2 separate regions of the Homo sapiens genome follow, and region 1 is linked to region 2. The links are contacts of gene promoters, found by promoter capture Hi-C in blood cells and fetal thymus (Javierre and others, 2016). All regions are on one chromosome and are shown on one strand. Each heading gives the region's core, a stretch centred on a gene start or on the middle of the fragment in contact. The rest is flanking DNA. Distances are from core to core; before and after follow the strand shown. Region 1 holds the start of OR2AE1 (olfactory receptor family 2 subfamily AE member 1). Region 2 holds the start of AZGP1 (alpha-2-glycoprotein 1, zinc-binding).

Evidence for each region. The method cuts DNA at HindIII sites, captures the fragments that hold promoters and counts their contacts. A CHiCAGO score of 5 or more calls a contact.
Region 1: a contact is called between the fragment with the promoter of OR2AE1 here and the fragment with the promoter of AZGP1 in region 2, in 2 of 17 cell types (erythroblasts and M1 macrophages). The highest score is 8.1, in erythroblasts.

What each region holds. Positions count from the first base shown.
Region 1 is chr7:99,875,639-99,878,338 of GRCh38, reverse strand. OR2AE1 (olfactory receptor family 2 subfamily AE member 1) reads left to right here and starts at 1,306. Exons shown (of 1, transcript NM_001005276.1): 1 at 1,306-2,277. The coding sequence starts at 1,306. The coding sequence ends at 2,277. The HindIII fragment of the contact is 12,247 bases long and covers 762-2,700 here.
Region 2 is chr7:99,974,674-99,977,373 of GRCh38, reverse strand. It overlaps AZGP1 (alpha-2-glycoprotein 1, zinc-binding), which reads left to right and starts at 1,343. Exons shown (of 4, transcript NM_001185.4): 1 at 1,343-1,429. The coding sequence starts at 1,354. The HindIII fragment of the contact is 13,516 bases long and covers 1-2,695 here.

The DNA.
Region 1 (2,700 bases), core at 57-2,556, 99 kb after region 2:
TAGCCAGGATGGTCTCCATCTCCTGACCTCGTGATCCACCTGCCTCGGCCTCCCAAAGTGCTGGGATTACAGGCGTGAGCCGCCGCGCCCGGCCAGGTGTGTGCATTTTTAATCTGGCCATTAAGAAGCGCCCCAGCGGCCGGGTGCGGTGGTTCACGCCTGTAATCCCAGCACTTTGGGAGGCCGAGGCGGGGGGATCACGAGGTCAGGAGATGGAGACCATCCTGTCGAACACGGTGAAATCCCCGTCTCTACTAAAAATACAAAAAATTAGCCGGGTGTGGTGGCAGGCGCCTGTAGTCCCAGCTACTACGGAGGCTGAGGCAAGAGAATGGCATGAACCCGGGAGGCGGAGCTTGCAGTGAGACGAGATCGGGCCACAGCATTCCAGCCTGGGCGACAGAGCAAGACTCCAACTCAAAAAAAAAAAAAAAAAAAAAAAGAGGCGCCCCAGCTTCTGCAGGATATCCACACCGCCAATTTCAGAGACAACAAGAACTGACATGGGTTTCAGTCTGCCTTTGTGGGATTGCAGCTCATGCTTGTGGGTTCCAGCATGACTTTGATCTGCCACTCTTTATATCCATTTTTTTTTTCCTGACTACTTGCCCTCTGGAATTAAAGTTCCAGCATCAGACACAAAGGTAACAGCCACGCATAGATTGCCTAACCAGCTTCCACAATTGTATAAGAGAAATCTCTTAGTGTTATAGCTTTTCTAGTAAAATCCTCACTGATAAAATAAGCAACGCCCCCAAGCTTTTCTCCAAACTGTCTCTCTGTGTGTGTCTGTATAGAGAGAGAGAGCTTAAAAATCTGCCTTCACAAACATGATCACTCTGAAATCTCAGAATATCTAGACTCCATTAAGTATCAAACTTCAAGTCTCTTCTCATTAAGAAAGACAAATGTGTGTGTGTGTGTGTGTGTGTATACATATGTGTGTTTTGGAAGCCTAGGAAGTAAATGGGGAATAAATATATACACACATACATATACATACACACACACACACACACACATATATATCTTTCTTAACGAGAAGAGACTTGAAGTTTGATAATAGAGTCCAGATATTCTGAAATTTCAGAGTGATTATGTTTGTGAAGGCAGATTTCTAAGCTCTCTTTTAAAAAAAGGTTATTTGAATAATTAGAGAGGTTGAATAATTAGAAACGGAAATTTTTTTCACAGGTTCTGTCCTCTATCAAAAGGTGCTTTTCCTTGGGTATACTGGACCCCAGTATTTCCAGTCACACTCTTTATCTCCACTCTCTGTTTCCTCAGGGATTGAGAAAGGGGACAATGTGGCAGAAGAATCAGACCTCTCTGGCAGACTTCATCCTTGAGGGGCTCTTCGATGACTCCCTTACCCACCTTTTCCTTTTCTCCTTGACCATGGTGGTCTTCCTTATTGCGGTGAGTGGCAACACCCTCACCATTCTCCTCATCTGCATTGATCCCCAGCTTCATACACCAATGTATTTCCTGCTCAGCCAGCTCTCCCTCATGGATCTGATGCATGTCTCCACAATCATCCTGAAGATGGCTACCAACTACCTATCTGGCAAGAAATCTATCTCCTTTGTGGGCTGTGCAACCCAGCACTTCCTCTATTTGTGTCTAGGTGGTGCTGAATGTTTTCTCTTAGCTGTCATGTCCTATGACCGCTATGTTGCCATCTGTCATCCACTGCGCTATGCTGTGCTCATGAACAAGAAGGTGGGACTGATGATGGCTGTCATGTCATGGTTGGGGGCATCCGTGAACTCCCTAATTCACATGGCGATCTTGATGCACTTCCCTTTCTGTGGGCCTCGGAAAGTCTACCACTTCTACTGTGAGTTCCCAGCTGTTGTGAAGTTGGTATGTGGCGACATCACTGTGTATGAGACCACAGTGTACATCAGCAGCATTCTCCTCCTCCTCCCCATCTTCCTGATTTCTACATCCTATGTCTTCATCCTTCAAAGTGTCATTCAGATGCGCTCATCTGGGAGCAAGAGAAATGCCTTTGCCACTTGTGGCTCCCACCTCACGGTGGTTTCTCTTTGGTTTGGTGCCTGCATCTTCTCCTACATGAGACCCAGGTCCCAGTGCACTCTATTGCAGAACAAAGTTGGTTCTGTGTTCTACAGCATCATTACGCCCACATTGAATTCTCTGATTTATACTCTCCGGAATAAAGATGTAGCTAAGGCTCTGAGAAGAGTGCTGAGGAGAGATGTTATCACCCAGTGCATTCAACGACTGCAATTGTGGTTGCCCCGAGTGTAGAGTGGAATAGGATAAGCTCCTTAAATTAATTCATATAAACCTCTAAAGTTTTTCAGGGAGATAGCTTCCTTATGCTGTTTTACTACTGGAAGAAAAACACATTTAACACACAATTCCAGTATTCCAGCTTGGTGTCAGGTATCCAAGCACTGTGGAGAACATTTGAGTAGATCTTTAGAGAATTAGGGAAAACTTTTTAAAAAGTCCCTTTGAAAGAAGACATATAAAGGTCACTGACACCCTGAAAAAAAGAAGGCAAGATAAAGATATAAGGGCCCTTATCTATTATTATTTTTATTAACAAAAATATATAAAACATGCCACCAGAGAGTATTTATGGAGTTTAAAATTGGAGTGTGTTGCTTACTTTTGGAAGCATGGGAAGTAAATGGTGAATGATGGCTGTTTGAAAGGGAGGATGCA
Region 2 (2,700 bases), core at 94-2,593:
TCTCAGCCTGTATGACTGCCATCCATCCTCTACATAATCTAACAAATAATTAAACTCTGAGCATGAGGTATTTTTGCTGGAGCAATCTTGCCAATAATGCCCTTTTGGAGCCCAATCAATAACAATACCTGCGGCTAGACTTTGGAGCACAACGGCCTTAGGAGCATTACAATTATTCCATAAAATTGAAGTCACTATAAAAGGTCCCTTTGTAGGTTTCTTTAACCAAAAGAGAGGCTGGGCACAGTTGCTCACACTAGTAAACCCAGCACTTTGGGAGACCGAGGCGGGCAGATCACGAGGTCAGGAGTTCAAAACCAGCTTGGCCAACATGGTGAAACCCCTGCCTCAGCTTCCTGAGTGCTGGGATTATAGGCATGTGCCACCACGCGCAGCTAATTCTTGTATTTTTTCAGTAGAGACGAGGTTTCATCATGTTGCCCAGGCTGGTCTCGAGTACCTGACCTCAACCTGAGGTGATCCAACCACCTCAGCCTCCCAAAGTGCTGGGATTACAAGCATGAGTCACCGCACCCGGGCCCCAGTCACTTTAGAATAGCATGTTGCTTTGTATTCGGAGGGTCTCTCTGCAAATAGCCCATCAACACTGAGCGTGCCTGGAAAGACCTGGTTTTCAAATAACTGGCTTCGTCTGTGTAAAACGAGTCTTGTTGTATGCATTAAAAATTATCTTGGCTGGGCGTGGTGGCTCACGCCTTTAATCCCAGCATTTTGGGAGGCTCGTTCTGTTGCCAGGGAGGCTGCAAAAGGAGGATGCGGCTATTTCTGCTTCCATCATGGAAGGCTGGGATTCCACAGGCACAGAAAGGAAGGAGGGAGAGATGGGAATGTGACTGTCCTCCAGACACAGCCTCTGGCAGGATCGGATGTGGGAGAGTGAGGGTCCCACCCCAGCTGGGGTCTACCCAGGTCCATGTCTTGGACATGTTGAGAGTTTTTCTGGAAGGCAGGGATACAGTGTGGTCCAAAAACACACAAATGCCCCTACTGGCCCAGGGGTTGTCACAATAGACTGGAAGGGTGACACATCCCAGGCGCTTGCCACCCATCACACGCACCTCCTACCCACTGGCATCCTTCCACCCCAGGCACACACAAAGCCTCAGTCCAGAGATCAACTCTGGACTCAGCTCTGAATTTGCATATCCTGTGTGTAGATTCATTCTTCATAACCTCTGCCCAGCCTAGCTTGTGTATCATTTTTTTTTCTCTATTAGGGGAGGAGCCCGTCCTGGCACTCCCATTGGCCTGTAGATTCACCTCCCCTGGGCAGGGCCCCAGGACCCAGGATAATATCTGTGCCTCCTGCCCAGAACCCTCCAAGCAGACACAATGGTAAGAATGGTGCCTGTCCTGCTGTCTCTGCTGCTGCTTCTGGGTCCTGCTGTCCCCCAGGAGAACCAAGATGGTGAGTGGGGAAAGCAAGGGATGGGTGCTGGAGAGGACTGGAAGGAGGTGAGGAACAGGACATGTGGCTGGGAGACAGGCTGGATGCAGCTGGGATACCCTGGCATACGGCAGGAATGGGTGCCCAAGGCTGTCAACTCCCTCAGCTCACACACTTCCAGGAGCATTCAGGGAGCCTCTGCGCTGGCCCGAAATAAGACCTTCAGGAATCTGAATCTAAAACCCCTAGTTTACAGTGAAAACAAAGACTCCAAAGACCAAGCGACCTGCTTGGGGTAGACAGTCAGGACGGAGTAGGAACCATATGCCTGGAGCTGCTTCTGCTCCTGTTCCTTCCCTCCTTCCGATGGCTGGGTACACCTGCCTGACGCTGAGGGAAAGAGAGAGCAGCCCCAAGGGGAAAGTGGGAAGGCAGGTTGGCTGGAGGGATGGTGCTAGAAGGAAACCCGTGCCCAAATCCCACACTCAGACACCACTGCAGTGGGTCTGGAAGGCGAGTGGCTGGAAGAGAAGAGAGTGGGAGCTCCGGGAGATCAAGAGTCACTCCTAGGATAAGGGAAGGAGGCTGTTTGTGGCATGAGAATGTGCAGGATAAAGACATGGAAGCGAATGGCTTCTCAGTTGTGTGAGTTTAAAATTCATGACATTTACAAATTGTCAGAAAAGGTGTTATATGTTTGTTATATAACAATCACTTTGGAATGTTAATCTGATTCTGTGCCAAAATCTGAATTACTCAGGGTTCTCCAGAGAAACAGAACTAATAGGTGGTACACATATACATATATATGTACGTACACATACATACATACACTGTATACACATGGATACACACACACATAGGAAGAGATTTACATATATGTATACAAAAGAGAGAGAGAGTAGAGATTTATTTTAAGAAATTGACTCACACTATTGGGAGGAGTAACAAGTCCTAAATCTTCAGAGCCGGCCAGCAGGCTGGAGACCCAGGGAAGAGTTGATGTCTTAGTCTTGATTCCAAGGGCAGACTGTAGGCAGAATTCTTTCCTCTTTAGGGGACATCTGAGGCTTTTTCTCTTAAGGCCTTCAACTGATTGGATGAAGCCCACCACTATGGAGAGTAATCCACTTTACTCAAGGTCTACTGATTTTTTTGTAAATTAAAAAAAAAACTGTGGGTGCATAGTATGTGTATATATTTATGGGGTACATGAGAGGTTTTGATTCAGGCATGCAATGTGAAATAATCACATCATCAAAAATGAGGTATCCATCCCTTCAAGCTTTTAT